Linked DNA regions of Homo sapiens: region 1 is linked to region 2. Evidence: promoter capture Hi-C in human tissues and cell types (Jung and others, 2019). All regions are on one chromosome and are shown on one strand. The core of a region is centred on a gene start or on the middle of the fragment in contact, and the rest is flanking DNA. Distances in the headings are between cores, read along the strand shown. Region 1 overlaps PI4KA (phosphatidylinositol 4-kinase alpha). Region 2 holds the start of SERPIND1 (serpin family D member 1).

Evidence for each region. The method cuts DNA at HindIII sites, captures the fragments that hold promoters and counts their contacts. A contact is called where the count stands out against the background at its distance.
Region 1: a contact is called between a fragment that was not itself captured here and the fragment with the promoter of SERPIND1 in region 2, in 3 of the 25 tissues and cell types used here (IMR-90 fibroblasts, dorsolateral prefrontal cortex and lymphoblastoid cells).

What each region holds. Positions count from the first base shown.
Region 1 is chr22:20,805,350-20,810,861 of GRCh38, forward strand. It overlaps PI4KA (phosphatidylinositol 4-kinase alpha), which reads right to left. Exons shown (of 55, transcript NM_058004.4): 10 at 2,013-2,109. Among named protein-coding and RNA genes, the nearest start is that of SERPIND1, 34 kb to the left of the region's middle. The HindIII fragment of the contact is 6,426 bases long and covers 1-4,827 here.
Region 2 is chr22:20,769,605-20,775,423 of GRCh38, forward strand. It overlaps SERPIND1 (serpin family D member 1), which reads left to right and starts at 4,509. Exons shown (of 5, transcript NM_000185.4): 1 at 4,509-4,541. The region is part of intron 19 of PI4KA (phosphatidylinositol 4-kinase alpha); the gene reads right to left. The HindIII fragment of the contact is 14,489 bases long and covers 1-5,819 here.

The DNA of each region.
Region 1 (5,512 bases), core at 365-2,864, 33 kb after region 2:
CCACGTGCACACAACCTGGCAATCAGAGGAAATGATCATTTCCCAGGGATGTTACAGCCATGCTTTGTTTTAAGCAGTCAACGTACTAAAACCTGAATACATGAAACATATAAATTGGGAAGTATCGTTGCTGGAACTACTTCCACTGACAATATGAGATACTTCTGTGATTTTTTTTTCTTTTAAGAAAGAGGTTGTCAGGGCCAGGCGCGGTGGCTCACGCCTGTAATCTCAGCAACTTGGGAGGCCGAGGCGGGCAGATCATGAGGTCAGGAGATCGAGACCATCCTGGCTAACACGGTGAAACCCCATCTCTAATAAAAATACAAAAAATTAGCCGGGCGTGGTGGTGGGCGCCTGTAGTCCCAGCTACTCGGGAGGCTGAGGCAGGAGAATGGCGTCAACCCGGGAGGCGGAGCTTGCAGTGAGCCAAGATCGTGCCACTGCATTCCAGCGTGGGCGACAGAGCGAGACTCCCATCTCAAAAAAAAAAAAAAAAAGAAAGAAAAAGGTTGTCAGATAAGGGCAAAAACTGGTTGCAGCCTTGAGAAGAGAATTATCTGGATCTTCAGAGCACTCACCCTGAGTTTGAGAGACTTTTCAAACTCTCATCCCCAGGGCCTGGAAAATTCAGGAGAACCACCATGATGCACGCACAAGTCAGCCCAGCCAAGGCAGCCAGCAACACACAGCAGGGGTGGTGGGGAGGGCAGGGGTAATCCCTGATGCCCCTTCTTAGGGAGTTTCAACCCTTGCCGTGGCCCAGATGACTCAGCTTCTGAGGAATGTTCAGAATCAGATTAGGAAAGTGGTTACTAAATTTTGGTATACCTTCCTGACAAAATATTATGTGCTCATCAAAACTTAAGCTTACGAAGAACACTCAACAGTGTGAGGGGAGAGCATAGGAAAAACATTTTGTAAAATGCATAAAAGATTGTTTCCTCACTTCTGGGAAAAACAAAATTCATGAAAGAGGGACTAGAAGAAAATGCTAAATTGTTGTGTGTGCATGTTAACTATTAAGCTATTGTCTCAGGTTGGGTGCAGTGGCTAACACCTGTAATCCCAGCACTTTGGGAGGCCAAGGTGGGTGGATCATTTGAGGCCAGGAGTTCAAGACCAGCCTGGCCAACATGGTAAAACCCCATCTCTACTAAAAATACAAAAATTAGGCAGACGTGGTGGCACATGCCTGTAATCCCAGCTACTTGGGAGGCTGAGGCACGAGAGAATTGCTTGAGCCTGGGAGGCAGAAGTTGCAGTGACCCCAGATCATGCCAATGCACTCCAGCCTGGGCGACAGGGAAAGACTCTGTCTGAAAAAAAAAGCTAGTACCTCTACATTAACAGATTACATGTATTACAAGTACTTCATTTTCTTTTTTTTAATGTTTTTGAGATGGAGTCTTACTCTGTCACATAGGCTGGAGTGCAGTGGCACGATCTGGGCTCACTGCAACCTCCGCCTCCCAAGTTCAAGCGATTCTCCTGCCTCAGCCTCCTGTGTAGCTGGGATTACAGGTGCATGCCACTGCGCCTGGCTAATTTCTTTTGTATTTTTAGTAGAGACAGGGTTTCACCCTGTTTGGCAAGGCTGGTCTCGAACTCCTGACCTTAAGTGATCAGCCCACCTTGTCCTCCCAAAGTGCTGGGATTATACGCATAAGCCACTGTGCCTGGCCTCTTTTTTAATTTTTTAAACTATCTAAATGGATATGTAAAACTGTATCTGTCCTTAGGACAATATAACATGCACATTTTAGATAAACACCTTAGGAAATAAACTCAGCAAAGGAGCCATCATCGATGGTACCGGGGTTGCAGGATCATGGACAGATTTTTTAAATTTGCTTTTTTCCCAAAATTTCAGTAACATGACCACTTTGCTCATATGTGTTTTTCAGTGGCCCCAGCAGAAAGTGAGTACCAGTCTGCAACCACTAGCATGCGACAGTGGCCTGGGAGCCAGTCTTGCTGTACTCACAAACACATGGGCAAACTGTCCTCACCCTTCATGTAGTACAGAGTGTCACGCAGCATCTTGAACATGGTCAGGTAGAGAGGGTCACTGAAGGAAGTGTAGTAGAGATCAGCACTGGGGTTGGCCTGCAGGGAAGGCAGACACACATGACTATAGAACAGAAATGCCCTTCTGCCCACCCTTTGCCTTCACAGCAAGGCCCAGCGGAATGGTGATTCGTGACTTAGCATTCTAAATGAAGCAACTGTTTATCATGACTCATCACTTGGACACTCTACTGTCTTCATCCTCTTAAGCATCAGACCAAGGAAAACAGGAGGCTCATGCAGTCCAGAGATGCCTGCGGGGGAGCAGCCATCTGCACCCTAGTAGGAAGAACCTCCTTGCTGTGGCTGAAGCTCACCATCTTTGGCCATCATTGGCCCAGACAGGGACATGGGAAGTGGTGAAGGAGGAAGACTGACAAAGGCCACCAGAGTAAGGGATCCACACTGTCCATCATCCCAAGGATACAAATTACAGCCAGGACACCTTCAGATACAACTTATGTTTTGTAATTAAAACTCATTTTAAATTATTCTTTAGGAATCTATTTGAAATGTAGCACTATTCTTCTTCTGAAAAAAAAAAAAAAATTCACACAAGGTCTAATGAGTTAAGAAAGATAATAGTCCAGCCCGGGTGTGGTGGCTCACGCCTGTAATCCCAGCATTTGGGGAGGCCAAGGAGGGTGGATCACCTGAGGTCGGGAGTTTGAGACCAGCCTGACCAACATGGAGAAACCCTGTCTCTACTAAAAATACAAAATTAGCTGGGCGTGGTGGTACATGACTGTAATCCCAGCTACTTGGGAGGCTGAGGCAGGAGAATTGCTTGAACCTGAAAGGCAGAGGTTGTGGTGAGCAGAGATCGCGCCATTGCACTCCAGCCTGGGCAACAAGAACAAAACTCTGTCTCAAAAAAAAAAAAAGGCTGGGTGCAGTGGCTCTCGCCTGTAATCCCAGCACTTTGGGAGGCCAAGGCGGGTGGATCACGAGATCAGGAGTTCAGGAGTTCAAGACCAGCCTGTCCAACATGGTGACACCCTGTCTCTTCTAAAAATACAAAAAATTAGCCGGGCGTGGTGGCGTGCACCTGTAATCCCAGCTACTAAGGAGGCTGAGGCAGAATTGCTTTGACCTGGGAGGCGGAGCTTGCAGTGAGCCAAGATCACGCCACTGCACTCCAGCCTGGGTGACAGAGTGAGACTCCGTCTCAAAAAAAAAAAAAAAAAGATAACAGTCCTTAACTTCTATATACTCCTAGTTGAGTAGGATGGAAAATTATGGTTTATCATAACTCGTTTTTTTCATTTTTTTTTTTAGAGATAGGGTCTCACTCTGTACCCCAGGCTGGAATGCAGTGGTATGATCACAGCTCACTGCAGCCTTGAACTCCTGGGCTCAAGTGATCCTCCTGCCTCAGCCTCCTGAGTAGCAGGGACTACAGGCATGTACCACCATGCCCAGCTAATATTATAATTCTTGACAAGTATAAAAGTGGTCTGCAAATATAGCAAATCTTTAAGGCGCCAGAAGTTGGCCAGAGTGGGATAGGGCATGCAGTGTGAGGTTGACAGAGGGTGAGTGAGCAGGTGGAGAAAAAAAGAATCATGTGGAGAGTGTGAGAGTCATGCCAATTCCCAGGAGGACACTGACAGGAAGAGCTGTGGTTGACAGCACTGCAATGATGGCTTTACAGACAACGTCTGGTGGTCCTCACAGGGCAGAAATGGAGAAATGAGACTGGGAGAGGTTAAAGCAGTTCAGGGCTTTGACTCTGGGAGTCCAGACAACACGAGTGTTAAACTTTGGAGCCTTGGAGACCAACCATCTTACAAGCCCACAGCCCAGCTCCATCACTCACGAGCTATGTAAATAAAGTTCCTGAGCTAAGCCTCAGTTTCCCCATATGTAAACTGGGGATTGTTGTGAGATTCAAGGAGTGAGTGAGTAAAGTTCTGGCACATAATAAGCATGTAATAATTGGTAGTGGTTATTACACTGATTATGGATACTGAGTAATATATTGCAGACTCTAGGTCAAGATTACAAGAAACTTTTTTTTTTTTAGCTATGAAACTGTTTCTTCAAATGGATGTTTATGCTAAAGAACAAATTACAAAACAAAAAATACCAGAAACTGCCCTGGTTCAATGAGAAGGAGGGTCCCAGAGGTGGAGTGCAGGCCCACTAAGTCTCCACTTGTCTAACTGCCCAGCCCAGCTCTCGCCCTGGTCCTCCTGGTCTGCCCTCAGTCACAAATGATCAAACACTTATGATGGAAAACCAAAGGTCTCTGAGACCACAAGCTCAGTCTATAGTGAGTGAGTGAGAGAGTTAAAGCTCAGGCCAATGGGCAGAACGACAACCTGAAAAAGGGTTGGAGACAAGGTAGGAACTGCCCAGATGCAACTTGGGGAGTTATAAGAACTCTGTTACTTAACCAAGAACCAACCCAGACCAAACCACGGCCAGCACATACATCTCACATCTGCAATAGCTCGTTGGCAGGGGTACGAAGCAGGAAGAGACATGGTCTACAGCACATGAAGGGCCCTGGTAGTTCCTTCCCTGCTTCATACCTGAGCCCCAGGTACAGTGGTATCAGGCACTGTGTGTCTTAAAATCAGGTGAGAGAAGGAACACCAGGCTTCAATAAGGAATCTGGGTCAGGGACATACCCATGGTAATAATTAGCCTGGCAAATGACAACCTGTCTGCATCCTAACCCTCAAGAGGGGCCTGACCCAAATGTTCCCCGAGATTTTTGAGACCTCCCAGCACCAATGTAATGATTTCATAAATAATGCTGTAGGCCTTGGTTCCAAATACATTAAAGACAAGAGTTCCAGCCGGGCATGGTGGCTCACGCCTGTAATCCCAGCACTTTGGGAGGCAGAGGCAGGCAGATCACGAGGTCAGGAGATTGAGACCATCCTGGCTAACACGGTAAAACCCAGTCTCTACTAAAAAATACAAAAAAAGTTAGCTGGGTGTGGTGGAGGGTGCCTGTAGTCCCAGCTACTTAGGAAGCGGAGGTAGGAGAATGGCGTGAACCTGGGAGGCAGAGCTTGCAGTGAGCCGAGATTGCGCCACTGCACTCCAGCCTGGGCGACAGAGCGAGACTCCATCTCAAAAAAAAAAAAAAAGTTCCCTAGTTACGCACCCCTTACACTTAAAAACCAGGACTTGCATACGCCTAGAAAAGTGTAGCTCTGAGCCCAGAGGAGCAGCTTTGGAAGCACCAAAGGAGTGAGGAAGATAAAAGAGTAGGAGAGACCCAGGCCAGACTCCCAGCTCCCACAGTAACTATGTGATGTGGGCACGTTAGTGAGTTCTCACTAAAACTCTATCTTCTGTCTGTAATGCCACCAGTCAGAGGCACCCTGAGGTGACGTATTTAAAAGAGCATGCAACGGTACCTACCACAGACCAAGCCCTCCGCGGCAGGTGGATTGTTACCACATGAACAAGGAAAGTGAAAACA
Region 2 (5,819 bases), core at 3,259-5,758:
GTTGCAGTGAGCCAAGATTGCGCCACTGCACTGCAGCCTGGGCGACAGAGCGAGACGCCATTTCAAAAAAAAAAAAAAATCAAGGTCAGGGGGGAAGTGGGAAGACTGAAATAGATAAAGGATTCTAAAGAGATATAACAGTCAAATGCGACACATGAAACCCTGACCAGATAAAAATTAAAAACCCATAAAATACATGTTTGAAGTCATAGAGTAATCTGACTTGGACTAGACATGTGATATATGTGAGGCTTGTGATCTTCCCAGGAGTGATGGTAGCACAGCACAGGGCAGAGACCCGTCCATGGAAGAAACACTGGTGCTAGTGCCCAGGGCAGAAGTGAGTGATGTCTTTAAGTGGATATGGAAAAATATTAACTATTCTACCTAGGTTGTGGGTGTATGGATATTTAGTATTCAATTATTCCAATTTCTCTGTGTATGTATACATATTTTTTTTAGAGACAGGGTCTCACTCTGTCGACCACACTGGAGTAGGGGGTACAATCATAGCTCACTGTACATACTCAAGTGATCCTTCTGCCTCAGCCTCCTGAGCAGATGGGACTACAGGTGTGCAGCATCATGGCCCAGTTTTTTTTTTTTTGGTAGAGATGGGTTTTGCTAGCCGGGAGCAGTGGCTCATGCCTGTAATCCTAGCACTTTGGGAGGCTGAGGCGGGCAGATCATCTGAGGTCAGGAGTTCAAGACCAGCCTGGGCAACATGGTAAAACCCTGTCTCTACTAAAAACACAAAAATTAGCCAGGCATGATGGCAGGCGCCTGTAATCCCAGCTACTTGGGAGGCTGAGGCAGGAGAATCGCTTGAACCCAGGAGGCAGAGGTTGCAGCAAGCTAAGATTGAGCCACTGCACTCCAGCCTGGGCAACAGAGCAAAAACTCCGTCTCAAAAAAAAAAAAAAAAAAAGAGAGAGAGAGAGATCGGTTTTGCTATGTTGCCCAAGCTGGACACGGACACACACACACACACACACACACACACACACACACACACACACACACACACAAGCTGGACACAGAGACACACACAGTGACAGGGCAAAGGTTCCAAAATTTTAAACCTGGTAAATCTGGGTACGGGTATACAGGAGTTGTTCTACTACACTATTCTTTCAACTTTTTTGAAAGTTTGAAGTTATTTCAAAAGAAAAAGTTTTCCAAACTTTAGTGATCCTCCTGCCTCAGCCTCCCAAAGTGCTGGGATGATAGGCATGAGCCACCGTGCCTGACCCCTCTGTATATTTTTAGAATTTCATGTTAAAAGATGGAAAAGTCTGGATGAGGTAGTTCACGCCTGTCTTCCCAGCTCTTTGGGAGGCCAAGGTGGGAAGACTGCTTGAAGCCAGACGTTCAAGACCAACTTGGCCAACATAGTGAGACCCCGCTTTTTTCTAACTAAAAAAATTTTTTTCCAAGTTGGAAAAAATATCTAGCCATAAGACAAACCTTGAAACTGCAAAAGAACAATGGAGTATGTGTGACAGGAGGTACTGCTCTACAGTGGGGTTAAAGCCATACACAAGCTGTGGTGGCTCACGCCTGTAATCCCAGCACTTTGGGAGGCCGATGCGGGCGGATCATGAGGTTAGGAGTTCAAGACCAGCCTGGCCAGCATGGTGAAACCCGTCTCTACTAAAAATACAAAACATTAGCCAGACGTGGTGGTGGGCACCTGTAGTCCCAGCTACTAGGGAGGCTGAGGCAGGAGAATGGCGTGAACCCAGGAGGCGGAGCTTGCAGTGAGCTGAGATTGCGCCACTGCACTCCAGCCTGGGCGACAGAGCGAGACTCTGTCTCAAAAAAAAAAAAGCCATACACAAGCTGTTACCACTAAATGGGAAAATGACTGAAAAATGTCAATGTCAAGAGGGACTGAAATCAAATTTTTCCAATAGTGGGTTACATGATCAGAAATCCAAATAGACAGGAAATATGTTGGCTTTATTTATTTATTTATTTATTTATTTATTTATTTAGACAGAGTCTCACTCTGTCACCCAGGCTGGAGTACAGTGGCATGAACTCGGCTCACTGCAACCTTCACCTCCCAGGTTCAAGCGATTGTCCTGCCTCAGCCTCCCGAGTAGCTGGGACTACAGATGTGTGCCACCACACCCAGCTAATTTTTGTATTTTTAGTAGGGACGGGGTTTTACCATGTTGGTCAGGCTGGTCTTGAACTCCTGACCTCAAGTGATCCACCCGCCTTGGCCTCTCAAAGTGCTGGGATTACAGGTGTGAGCCACCACACCTGGCCGGTACTGGCTTTAAAAATAACAAAAGTAATACATACACATAGAAAAAGGTCAAACAAAGAAGTACATAGAATGAAAAATGAATGCTGTGTCCCCTCCCAGACCATTTCTGTGAATAAATATGTAATACCATGAAATGATGAGGACTAACATTTTCTGAATGCCAGGCACCACTCTATGTGCTTTCCACACATTCATTAACCTCATTTAATTTTCTCATTTAATTAATGAGATAAATTAATGTATCTCATTTAATTTTCACAACAACCTCATGCAGTAGGTGTAACTGTCACCCTCATTTCAGAGAGCAGAATACTGAGAGCTGGAGGCCAAGGGGCAATTTCAGCCAGGGTGGCTGGTGACGCCTCGGTGAAACCAAGAGCGAACAGTGAGAGCAGCGGCCACCTGCTGGTCTGCAGGGATGGTGTCCTGGGCAGAAAGAATAGCAAGTGCCAGGGCTGTGCTGGGGCCGGGCTTTGCATGTGTGAGAACAAGACAGAGAATGAGGGAGGTGGGCCCACGAGGAGTGTGGGCACAGACAGCAGCCTCTGCCTGTGGTGCCACGCTGAAGACTCAGTATTGTATGTGACAGATGAAGGCTCTAAGAAGACAGCTCTGACAAAAGCTAGAGTGCAAAATCAGACTCAGACACAACCACCGGTCTGTGTCCTGAACACAATGGACCTTTACACTCTGGAATTTCTCAAACGGAGCAATGCACAGACACCCCCATGGGCCCCTTGCACACCCGCAGATTCTCCTAGGAGTCACATTCTCTCTTCAGATAGACTCTGGGTGCCGACACTCCCAAACATGCTCTTGAGGAGCAGTCTCTGTGATAAGCTGATCTTCCAGACAATCCAGAATATTCTTAAAACTTTTTAGATCATAAAATTTAAAACACAAATTAAAAAACAAATTATCATAAGGCCGGGCACAGTGACTCATGCCTGTAATCCCAGCACTTTGCAAGGCTGAAGCAGGAGGATCACTTGAGCCCAAGAGTTCAAGACCAGCCTAGGCAACATAGTGAGACCCTGTCTCTACAAAAAAGTCAAAAGTTAGCTAGACATGGTGGTGTGCACCTGTATTCCCAGCTACTTGCAGGGCTGAGGTGAGGAGGATTGCTTCAGCTCGGGAGGTTGAGGCTGCAGTGAGCCAAGATCACGCCACTGCACTCCAGCCTGGGTAACAGAGTGAGACCCTGTCTCAAAAAACACATAGGGCCAGGCGTGGTGGCTCACGCATGTAATCCCAGCACTTTGGGAGGCCGAGACGGGAGGATCACTTCACTCCAGGAGTTCAACACCAGCCTGGCCAACATAGTGAAACCCCGTCTCTACTAAAAATACAAAAAATTAGTTGGACATGGTGGTGTGCGCCTGTAATCTCAGCCACTCAGGAGGCTGAGGCAGGAGAACGCTTGAACTTGGGAGACAGAGGTTGCAGTGAGCTGAGATCGCACCACTGCACTCCAGCATGGGCAGCAGCGCGAAACTCTGTCTCAAAACAAACAAACAAACAAACAAACACCCATAAACACAAAATGTATCACAGCCTCAGAGATCCCCACGAATGCCTAAGTGGCCCTGAATTTGGGAGGCACTGCTCAGTAATAGTCCTATCTGTCCCACAACAGACAGGAGTGCTGGGCTGCACCTACTGGCAACAAACACAGCAACCCTTGACTGAAGAAAGGTCCATGCCACAATCCCCTTATTCTGTAAGCCACTAATTTTGTCCTCTCTCCTCCACCTTTCACTGAGGAACGAGCTCTTGGAAGGACAGGGACACCCGCCTAGTAGCTGAGCCAGCCACATCAGTCCTGGAGAGCAGGTGGAGGGCAGATGCTGTGATCATCCCAGAAGAGAGGACACAGTTGGAGGCAGATGCATGGTCTCTACTTTCAGCTACCCTCAATGCAGCCTGGTCCCCAGAGGCCTGAAGAGCGCCTTGTTTATGTGGTGACCTCAAGAGGGGCTGCTCCTGCACCAAGGCTATGTGTGCATGCTAACACAGTAACCGTCATATACTCAAAGTGTCAGCTCTAAGAACTGGAGATGAGGAGCTGCAAGCCACTCTACAGTTATCAAAGGCACAGCTGAGGGGGTTTGTGCTGACCAAGCTGGTTGCCTGGTGTTTGGATTGGGACTTATTTACTTTGGAAAATATGCAGCAACAGCCCAGCACCAAAGTTCACATCAAAATCCCACTGATGACCTTGGCTGCTTTCATCTCTGAAGCGCCACTTCTCAGAAACACAGAGGTAAGTTGGGTTTCTAATGTTTCTGCTGATTATAAATTATTTTTGGTGTTTACGGATAGGCAACTGGTTCATTTTTCTAGCAAACTAAGAATTCAGAAGCTTTCTACACTGTTTTAGAAGTGGGAAATGGTTTCATTTTTCAGTGTGCCTATTATAAAATTGTGTCAGTTCCATTGTTGGGAGAGTTGACAAACTTAGAATAGGAGCTGTGGAATAGATGAAAATATTGTACTTATATTAAATTAATCGAATTGGATAACTGTCCTGTGATTATGTATGAGAATATCCTTGCTCTTGGGTATTTTCCCTGAAGTATTAGTATTAAAGGTTAGAGGGGCCGGGTGCAGTGGCTCACGCCTGTAATCCCAACACTTTGGGAGGCCGAGGCGGGTGGATCACGAGGTCAGGAGTTCAAGACCAGCCTGACCAACATGGTGAAGCCAAGTCTCTACTAAAAATACAAAAATTAGCTGGGCGTGGTGGCACGCGCCTGTAATCCCAGCTACTCAGGAGGCTGAGGCAGGAGAATCGCTTAAACCCGGGAGGCAGAGGTTGCAGTGAGCGGAGATCGTGCCACTGCACTCCAGCCTGGACAACAGAGTTAGACTCCGTCAAAAAAAAAAAAAAAAAGAAGAAAAAAGAAAAAATGTTAGAGGAACAAGATATAGGAGACCTACTCTCAAATGGTCTAGAAGAAAAAATGTGTATGTGCATGCCTGTGAGAACACACACGTACGTACACACACACACAGATAATGACAGGGCAAAGGTTCCAAAATTTTAAACCTGGTAAATCTCGGTACGGGTATACAGGAGTTGTTCTACTACACTATTCTTTCAACATTTTTGGAAGTTTGAACTTACTTCAAAATAAAAAGTTTTCCAAACTTTAGGCAGTTACTTCTCTCCCATTCTGCCTGCTCTGTTGGGCCTGGAGACCATACACCAGGAGGGATGACGGTTTATCAAGTGTTATGCTCTGATGCGTGACTGAAAAGGCCAACCCAGCTCTGGCAATTAGCAAGAAAGCACAATATGAAGTTCCCAGGAAAAAAAAAAAGCAAAACAAACTTTTGAATGATTTATCTTTAAAATATATTGTTTCTCTTCAAACAGTAATCTGGATTTAATCACAACCTAGTGATAGTTTTTAAACGTCTTCTACAATGTTTGTTATACTAAATAGCAAAACATCAGGAAGATTTACCTTCAGATCTTTAATTTCAATCCATAAAAGATATCAGAGATATTTTCTCCTTCCTCTGGTAAGGGAATGAC